Regions from separate parts of the Homo sapiens genome. Here region 1 is linked to region 2. Evidence: promoter capture Hi-C in human tissues and cell types (Jung and others, 2019). All regions are on one chromosome and are shown on one strand. Each heading gives the region's core, a stretch centred on a gene start or on the middle of the fragment in contact. The rest is flanking DNA. Distances are from core to core; before and after follow the strand shown. Region 1 overlaps SSH2 (slingshot protein phosphatase 2). Region 2 holds the start of SLC6A4 (solute carrier family 6 member 4).

Region 1 (4,729 bases), core at 749-3,248, 550 kb before region 2:
CTGTTAGTCACTGCAGGGTTAAAGGAGGCTAGCCCTTAGTTGGGCTTTCCACTACACTTGCTGGCCTGTGCTGCTTAACACCTTAAGAGTGATTCCAGGCCAGGCACGGTGACTCATGCCTGTAATCCCAGCACTTTGGGAGGCCGAGGTCAGGAGTTCAAGACCAGCCTGGCCAACATGGCGAAACTCCATCTCTACACTAAAAATACAAAAATTAGCTGGGTGCAGGGGCAGACAGACACCTGTAATCCCAGCTACTCGGGAGGCTGAGGCAGGAGAATCACTTGAACCTGGGAGGTGGAAGTTGCAGTGAGCTGAGATTTGCGCCATTGCACTCCAGCCTGGGAGACACAGCAAGACTCCCTCTCAAAAAAAAAAAAAAAAAAAAAAAAAAAAAGAGTGATTCCAGAGCTCAGGAGATTCAAATCAAGACTGAAACAGCTTATCCACATTAGAACCTGGACCTGAACAACAGAAACACAGCTACCATGCCAGAGTCCAGGAGCAAGACAGCTCTACCACAAGTTTTGTTGAGTAGATGAGATGAGCGCACAAAAAAATTTGTTTTGAAAACGGCTTCCCAAGATGAAGTGGGGATAGTTTTACAGTAGCTTTTTGTTTTGTATTTAGTGAGTGCTTAGCCAGGTTCTTAGCAACAAGTATAATTTTGAGTATAAATATGGTGGGTTGGTAGCCCAATGACAAATCTAGAAATTAACTATATAAAAAGATACAGAAGCTGCAAAAGAGTGTGATCTATAAGCTTGTGACCAGATTTTGGTTAACCTTTGGACAAGTGACATTGATATACAGGAATCGACATTACATTTTTGGCTTGTATTCAGGCCAGAGTGCTTTTTTACATTAAGAAGTAGCTTTTTCAGCAGGGCGTGGTGCCTGTAATCCCAGCACTTTGGGAAGCAGAGGCGGGCGGATCACGAGGTCGAGATAGAGACCATCCTGGTCAACATGGTGAAACCCCGTCTACTAAAAATACAAAAATTAGCTGGGCATGGTGGTGTGCGCCTGTAGTCCCAGCTGCTTGGGAGGCTGAGGCAGGAGAATCGCTTGAACCCAGGAGACGGAGGTTGCAGTGAGCTGAGATTGCACCACTGTACTCCAGCCTGGCCACAGAGTGAGACTGTCTCAAAAAAAAAAAAAAAAAAAAAAAAAAAAAAAGTAGCTTTTTCACGCAACAGGAAGGAAAGGACTGAATAAGGCACGCTTGGTATTTTTATCCAGGTTACCTCAGTCTCTCAAGATTTTTCTCCATTTAAGTATAACTACTTATTTTAGTAAATATTCAATTCATTCAATAAAAATTTATTTAGTGCCTACTATGTACCAGACATTTCAAGGTGTTAGGGGTACAAAAAGAAATGGAAAAAAAAAACCCCAAAAAACCATGAAGCTCTATTATTTTATAACTTAAAATATGTTACACTTTAGAAACCAAGATTATGCTGCATATTTAAAAAATTATTAAAATATAACATAATACTCAAAGAACTTGTAAATGGGCTAAATGAATTGGCTGCAACGTATTATTAAGAACTATTTGTACTTGTCATAATCTGGGTTCCACTTTGGCTTAATACTATTTTGAAGCATTAACATTTACATTCTCAGATATGAAATGATACAAATTCAAATTCCTTCAACAACAACTGAGACAGAAATGATTTTAGATTACCTGAGCATCTGAGACTTCTTACTGTCCAAGGAACTCATTAAAGCAGAGGATGTATGGGAATTTCATAATAGCAAGTTTAGCAAACAGAATGAAAACTAGTTTCTAGCTTTTCATGTTTTAAGTTTGTCTTCTATAAACTATAATTTCCTTTGGCTAGTGACACTGGTCAGATATGATTCAGACAGGGCCATTGGCAAAAGATAGATGTAATTTACTGAGTATAAACTACTGGATACCTATATTAATATGCATTCTTTCTGGTAAAGTTTAGGACAAAGTGAAAGAGAAATGATTAGACATGTGCTTGCTCATATTCTGGGTCAGGAGAATCTGCAGTTATTGTCTTCTGTCTCTAGGGGAAGATTCAATTGAAGCTTCATGAGGTTCCTGTTCCTGTTTTATAGGGTTTTCAAGGGAGGGGGTCAGGGAGAACTGAACAAAGGAAATATGAGCTAGAACAGTGCTGTCCAACTGAACTTTCTGCAAGAATGGAAAATGTTCTATACATGTACTGTCTAATACGATAGCCACTAGCACATACGGTTACTGAATACTTGAAATGTGACTAGTTAGAACTGAGGAATTGAAATTTCATTTAATTTTAATCTATTTAAAAAGACACGTGCATGCTGTATGCAGTGGCTCATGCCTATAATCCCAGCACTCAGGAAGGCAGAGGCAGGAGCTCAGGAGTTGAGACCAGCCTGGGCAACACAGAGAGACTGTGTTCTTCACAAAAAGGAAAAAAGAAAAGAAGAGAAGAGAAAAGGAAGGAAGATGAAAGAAGGAAGGAAGGCAGGCAGGCAAGAAGGAAGGAAGGGGCACATATGGTTAGTGGCTACTATACTGGACAACACAGATCTAGAAAGATTAAAAACCTAAATTAGAGGTCCTAAAATCCTAATGAATGTAAACAAGGTAGGTGCTGTTATAGGAAAATGCTTACTGAAAGCTCTGTTGCTTAATCAGAAGTTAAAACCATGCAGGAGAAATCTTCCTAAATCTGGTTTACAAGCCTGTGTAAATTCAGAGCCTACAATTAAATGCTGTTAAGTGGTATACAAGCTAATAACTTTGGCTTTGGGAATTCCTGTGAACCCCCAAGTCATTTTCAGGTTGACTTCTATATAGGAATAAGGTAAACATTGGTTTGGGAAACTTTCTAGTGACAAAGTGATTTTTTCCCCTCAACATCAGGAAAATTAGAATCATTCCCAGGCTCCTCCTCTCTTTGTGGCTAAATTTCCCTAGGCCTGGGTCACACCCCTAGCTACCCCATAGTTCCATTCTAATCCTGAACCAGGAAGTCAATGCTTTGAGACATCTGGCAGGATTTCCTGAGGCTAATTATCCACAGCGTAAAGATCTGCTTAGCAGCCACATTCCAAAGTCTTCCGAAGGTTTCTCCAGAAAAAGTGGGAAAAATAAAAAAGGAAAGCAACAAACCTTAAGGACACACGAAAAGGCCAGGTGTTGTGTGTCATCTTTCATCATAGAATGTAAAGTACAGCTAAAGCCAAAGGTACATAAAAAGTTCTGCTTTGAGTTTAAGGAGCCATCCCGTACCACCCCATCCCCGCCCCGCCCACCATCCTTTTTAACTCAATAGAAGGAAAAAGGAGGCATAGCATTTGGTAAAAGCAAGGTTTAAACAAAACAGACTGTAGTTTAAGTGGGATCTCTTTGTATCTGGGACTACTGGTATACTACCACAAAGGGTAGGTGCCCTAGAATCACCAAAGTGAATCATTACTGACTACAATAGAGTAGGCCAGGTGCAAGGCTCATGCCTGTAATCCCAGCACTTTGGGAAGCCGAAGTGGGAGGATTGCTTAAGCCCAAGAATTCAAGACCAGCCTGGCCAACATAAGGAAATCTTCTCTCCAGAAAAATAAGGAAAAAAAAAAAAAAAAGACCAAATAGCTGGGTATGGTGGTGCATGCCTGTACTTCTAGCTACTTAGGAGGCTGAGGTGGAAGGATTCCTAGAGCCCAGGAGGAATTTGAGGCCGTAGTGAGCTGTGACTGCATCACGGCACTTCAGCCTGGGCAGCAGAGCGAGACGCTGTCTCAAAAAGAGAAATAAAAAGGCAGCTTTTTTTCCATGGAAATGTAACTTTGAAACCACTTGCTTTATATTGTGACTATCTAAAGATGAGATGAAGGTATGGAATAATGGTAAATTGGAAACACACGACCAAAGACATTCACTAAACATTCTTGTTTCTCAAGACTGTGGCTAAGATACTTATGTTCTTTAGTTTTATGTCTTGTACTTTAACAGCAGAACTGCACAAGATATTTTTGTGATAAAAGGCAACTGGGGCCAGGCACGGTGGCTCACGCCTGTAATCTCAGTACTTTGGGAGGCTGAGGTGGGTGGATCACTTGAGGTCAGGAGTTTGAAACTGGCCAATATGGCAAAACCCCATCTCTACTAAAAATACAAAAATTAGTTTGGCATAGTGGTGTACACCTGTAATTCCAGCTACTCAGGAGGCTGAGGCAGGAGAATCGCTTGAACCCGGGAGGCGGAGGTTGCAGTGAGCCGAGATTGAGCCACTGCACTCTAGTCTGGGCAACAGAGTGATGACACTCCGTCCCCATTAAAAAAAAAAAAAAAAAAAAGCAACTGGAACAGGTTACTTAAAAAGCAGTTTTCACATTTTGAAATGGTACCACCATACCTGTCATTAGAGGAGAAATCCATTCCTAGGACGATGCTTTCTTCAGTGTCTTGTCTACCATTAGTTGAAACCACTACCATATAGCGTGTTCGATTCTGGTAAGTACTTTCCAGTCTTACAGCCTGGAATTTAGCAGACAACAGAGAAATTATGAAATTTAGGACATTAATTTCAGATCATTTCAACCCTTTTTCATCAGCATCTTAAAGCATACTCACGAAGGCAGCAGAGCCAGTAGTTAGGAGACATAAATTAAAATCTCAGCTCGTACACTAGCTATAAAAACTTTGGTAAGTTACTAAATTAATTGGAGGGAGATATAATAATACCTAACTGTCAGGTTGTTTTAA
Region 2 (4,755 bases), core at 1-2,500:
AACGGTCACTGCCACCCCAGAGTGCGTGGCAGGAAAACCCGAACCCTGGGGCCTCAGTGGCTTCACACAGAAGCAAGTAATGGGACAAAGAGTCAAAGCTGTGTGCTCCCTACGCTCCTAAAAACCCAACACTGACGCTGCCCACAGTTCTCTGTTTCATTAAACACAAGTCCCAATGTCACCTTCTTAGACATTTTTCCTATGTAACTGAAGGCAAAACACATTAAATATTTGCTCTCGTCTTCCTATGATGAGAGTTAGCTAGCAGGCTCATAAATAATCCATTGACCAGGTTCACTTTTCTGGACAAAACTGATGGTAAAAATACATACACAAAGTCTTTGTAATGTCTGATTCAGAAATTCTACCCCTCTCAAATTCTTCAGAGTCCCAAATGGAAAAGGAACAATTCAATATGCAAAAGCCCCAGTTCAGAAGAAAATCTGCTCCTTAGCCCAAGACCCAAATCCACTCTTGAGCTCCAGAGAGCTTTTTTTCAAGAACAAGTTTGAATGTACACAATTTTCAAGCAAATGATGGTTATATCCTTCAACCACGTAGCACAGTCGTTGGAGTTGGAGTTTCACATACATTCTGAATGGCCTGTGAGGTGTCTGAGAGCGCCTCAGCTCTGACAGTGAAACCACCCAAGCGCACGGAGACTCGGCCCACTTAGGCGCCACTCAGAGATTTCTCTAGCTGTCTGGGCATTTGTGTCAACCAGAACTCTCCCTTTGCATAAAGCCACCTGCACGCGATGACAGCAAAGTAAAGATCAAACATAAACCATGGGTTGAAACGAAAGCAAGCAACTCTTCCCAAAGCGCAGGACAGCACTTTGCTCAAGACCCTCTTTAAGGGGTCTTTCACGGGTCCTCAAGAGGTTGCAAAGCCCCTGCAACAATAGACAAAGGAGCCCCCTACGCCCGCCCACTTCGAGCACTCCACGTTCCTCGTCTCCCACTCTGGCCGGTCAGCTTCAGCTCTGGCTCTTGCTGAGCGTGGAGGGCGCAGGGGCAGGATCCGGCGCCCACCGCTGGGGCGCATGCACCTCCTCGCCTCCTCGCAGGGCGGTGGGGCGCAGCGGTTCTATCCCCCTCCCCGAGGCGGGGAAGAAGGTCTGGAAAGAAACGTGGGTTCGAGGCGGAGAGGAAAAGCGGACCCACCTGCCAGGCTGCGCGGGGAGGCTGGTCCCGGGCTGGGCAGGCGGGCTGGCCTCGCGCCCTCGAGGCACCCGGCGGCGCTGGCTGTGCGGAGGGGCGCCGGCGCGGCCGTATTTGTACCCGCGGGCCCTCACATGGTCTGATCTCTAGATAGCCGCCGCCAAAGAGCTCTTGAAGAATTTTTGCGTCACTTTGAGGCGAATAAACTTAATGCTTCCCCGCGGCCGCGGCTCCGCGCTCCCGCTGGATGGGGTTGCGCTCGCCAGGGAGGGGCCGCGCTACGGGGCGGGGTGCGCGCCCGACCCCAGAGCCAGGAGGGGAGGGACCCCCGACACACACACACGCTCGCAGGGAGGAGCGGAGCGCGGAGCAGCCGGCAGGGCAGGGCCGAGCGAGGAATCCTGACTTTCCTGCTCTTTAACTTTGCGGGAGGGGGGAGGCTGCACAAAGGAGCAGGTGTGCGCCTCCCCTGCCGCCCCGCGCCCACAGGACGGCACACAGGGGTCTGCTCGTGCCGCTTTCTCTTGACCTCGGACACCTCCCCATCGTCCCCATCCCGAAAGCTGCTCTCTCTTTCTTCCTGGGACCTAGCAGTACTCGATACCCATGCGTTTATCTGACTGACCGGCTGGGATGTGAGCTCAGCTTAGAGGCCCTTGTCTAATTCCTCTCCGTCCCCAGAGTCTCACAATAAAGACTTCCACAATGAAGGAATGAAGAACTGGTTCTCATTTTGTTAACCAGCTACAGTTCAAAGCTGCGTCAAAAAGGAGCACAGTGCTTTGGGAGGCTGAGGCGGGAGGATTGCTTGAGCCCAGGAATTCAAGACCAGCCTGGGCAACACAGCAAGACCCCATCTCTAGAAAAAAAATTTTTTTAATTAGCCGGGCGTGGTTGCTCGCGCTTGTGTTCCCAGCTACTCAGGAGGCTGAGGTGGAGGATCAGCTGAGCCCGGGAGGTCGAGGCTGCAGTGAGCCGTGATCGAACCACTGCACTCCAACCTGGTGACAATTTGAATTATCTGAAAGGGCCCAGCAGGAGCCTATTGTTTTGAACCATGTGCATGTAGTTTTGATAATTTTTTCAAAAAGTTTAAAAATTGATTTAATGTTAATATCCTTTTTGCTAAAATTATTTAAAACTTTAAAAAGGGCACATGCAGTACTTGCTTTGGGTTGTCCCTGAGGCGGAAAGGAGAGGGCTCTACCTCTCCCCAAGAGGAGGCCAGGAACGATAGGAAGTAGAAGACCGAAAGGAAATAGCAGTGACAAGTTTGCAGCTCCAGAGAAGCCACCGCCCCTTGTACTTGGAGGAACTGACCCCTGAAAACTGTGCGGCCGGTTGGGCTGAGCGTCTAGAGGGACTGAGCTGGACAACCACGGGCAAGCGAGGGCAGCTCCCAGCGGGTGGAGTCCGCGCGGGATTCTGGTGCCACCTAGACGCCAGGGCGGGGACCGCAAGGTGGGCGGGAGGCTTGGAGGCCGGGATGCGGGGGAATACTGGTAGGGTGCAAGGAGAATGCTGGAGGGGTGCAGGGGGGATGCCGGGGGTGCATGGGGGGATGCTGGGGGGTGCAGGGGGGATACTGCGAGGGGTGCAGGGGGGATAATGGGGGTTGCAGGGGAGATCCTGGGAGAGGTGCAGGGGGATGCTGGAAGGGCTGCAGGGGGGATGCTGGGGGTGCAGGGGAGATGCTGGGGGGGCTGCAGGGGGGATGCTGGGGGTGCAGGGGGGATGCCGCGAGGGGTGAAGGGGGGGATAATGGGGGATGCAGGAGCGATCCTAGGAGGGGTACAGGGAGTTGCTGGGAGGTTGCAGGGGGGATGCTGGGAGGGCTGCAGTAGGGACATTAGGGGTTAGGTGCTGGCATTCAGAGCGGCAACGCCAGGCGGGAGAATCCCCAACAAGCTTGGGAATTTCACCCCCAGGGGCAGCGCCTGCACGGGAGTGGGGCCTCCTCCTTTCAGATGAACACAGTTGTCTGCTGCCTCCCACGTTCCACTTCTTAAATGAGCATGTTTGTGCTGTATAGGCAAGGGCAACAGAAAACGCAAAGTGTCCTTTCCAGGAGGGCCAAAGGAGGGGGGCAGGGACGCTGGGAAGAGGCGCCAAAGCGGAGGACGGCTGCAGGGGTGACTTCAGCGCTTGGCTACCAAGACCAGGTCTGTCCAGTGTGACTTCTTAGCACTTCTTAATTGTGCAGTCTCGCCACTTCTGATCTTCCTTCTAGACTCTTTCTAGCCGAAGATGCATTCCTGCCCAGCGCGCAGCCCCTCCCTATGGCACTGCCCTGTTCTGTGCAGGTGCTGCCTAGAGAGTGGGCACCCTGTGGACCTGGGTCAAATCCCGGCCCCCACCCTGTACTGTGGTGTGGGCTTGACCGAGCTCCTTAACCTCAAGCTGTCTGGCCTTTGTGTCTCTGTTTGTGAAGTAGGGAGGATGATCTCAGTGGGCACTGCCCAGCTGTGGGTGGGGAAGGGGCCAACTCCTTGCAGGCCCTGTGCGCTGGGCCCTTCCTCCAAGGGGGCCTTCGACCCCTCCTCTCTCTGGCCGGGTGGTCCCATCTCCTCCCCTCTTGCTCCCCAGCTGCGGGCAACCACCATTAGCAAATGACATTAGAATTACACAGACGGCCCCGCCCTGGTTCCCCCTGCCTCCATGGCAGAGTCCGCACACAACTGGCCCAGACCCTCCCCCTCTCTCTAAACAGGTGTTTCTCTTCCTCCTGCCCTGGGTACCATCCCACAGAGAGGCCAGGCCCACCTGCAGGTCCTCACCTCCACAGAGCCAGCCTCTCTTGAGCAGCTCCGCTCTGCCTTCTGATACTCATCGCCACAAGCACCTTGTCCTTCCTCGGCCTCCCACTCCCTCCCTCTGAGCCCGCGCCCTGCTCCCCTGCCTGGCGGTCAGTCGACTGCCCCGCCCCGCCTCCAATTCAGGTGGACAGGCTTCAGCGTCCACTACCGGGGAAGAGGCAGCCCCGCACCCGTGCCTCCCCCCGCCTCTGGGCCGCTCCTTCCCAGCCTGAGCCTGACCGCATGAGGAAGGCACAACCTCTCTGCTCCAGAGACCTGGAGAGGCCGGGAGGCCCTGTCCTGGGCATGGAAGGCAGGAGGGAGCCCTGAGTGCGGCAGGAGGGAAGCAGCGCTTCAGGGGAAGGATCTAATGGCTGTGACCTGCGTGGGCTGCAGGTAAGAGTAGGGGGGAAGGGGGTTGTCGTGGTGGTTGGGACAGACGGGTTCCTTAGAATGTGAATGCAGGCGTCAGCTGGTGGCCGCAGGGAAGAGATGCAAGCCAGAAACCCAGCAGGCACCTGCGAAGCTTGGTGCTGGTGGTGTATAGGGACAGCCAGGGAGATGTCAAGGGCGACAGGTCCTGGGCAGCTGGGAAGAGGCTGCCTGGCAATCACCGCACAGCAATAGTTTTTCTTTGTTCACCTGCTTGAGCCCAGAAATAGTGGGGCTTAGAAGCTGCTCTGGGGCTCAGAATAAATACAAGCTTTCACTTTAAGAGGAAAGGGGCACATAAATATTTACACCTGCCCCAAACACCACCAAGAAAACCCACTTCCTGGAAGTCTCAAAGGCCAGCA

Evidence for each region. The method cuts DNA at HindIII sites, captures the fragments that hold promoters and counts their contacts. A contact is called where the count stands out against the background at its distance.
Region 1: a contact is called between a fragment that was not itself captured here and the fragment with the promoter of SLC6A4 in region 2, in 1 of the 25 tissues and cell types used here (thymus).

The regions. Positions count from the first base shown.
Region 1 is chr17:29,680,184-29,684,912 of GRCh38, forward strand. It overlaps SSH2 (slingshot protein phosphatase 2), which reads right to left. Exons shown (of 16, transcript NM_001282129.2): 6 at 4,380-4,501. Among named protein-coding and RNA genes, the nearest start is that of SSH2-AS1, 43 kb to the left of the region's middle. The HindIII fragment of the contact is 6,367 bases long and covers 1-4,729 here.
Region 2 is chr17:30,234,447-30,239,201 of GRCh38, forward strand. SLC6A4 (solute carrier family 6 member 4) reads right to left here and starts at 1,251. Exons shown (of 15, transcript NM_001045.6): 1 at 1,167-1,251. It overlaps LOC105371720 (a long non-coding RNA gene), which reads left to right and starts at 3,052. Exons shown (of 3, transcript XR_007065698.1): 1 at 3,052-3,325; 2 at 3,874-4,354. RefSeq lists promoters at 1,035-3,061, 1,035-2,819, 1,035-1,329, 1,225-3,049, 1,230-3,075 and 1 more, cis regulatory regions at 1,330-2,819, 1,691-2,515, 2,392-2,431, 2,659-2,829, 2,698-2,717 and 2 more, a silencer at 1,485-1,667 and an enhancer at 3,883-4,755. The HindIII fragment of the contact is 6,948 bases long and covers 1-3,777 here.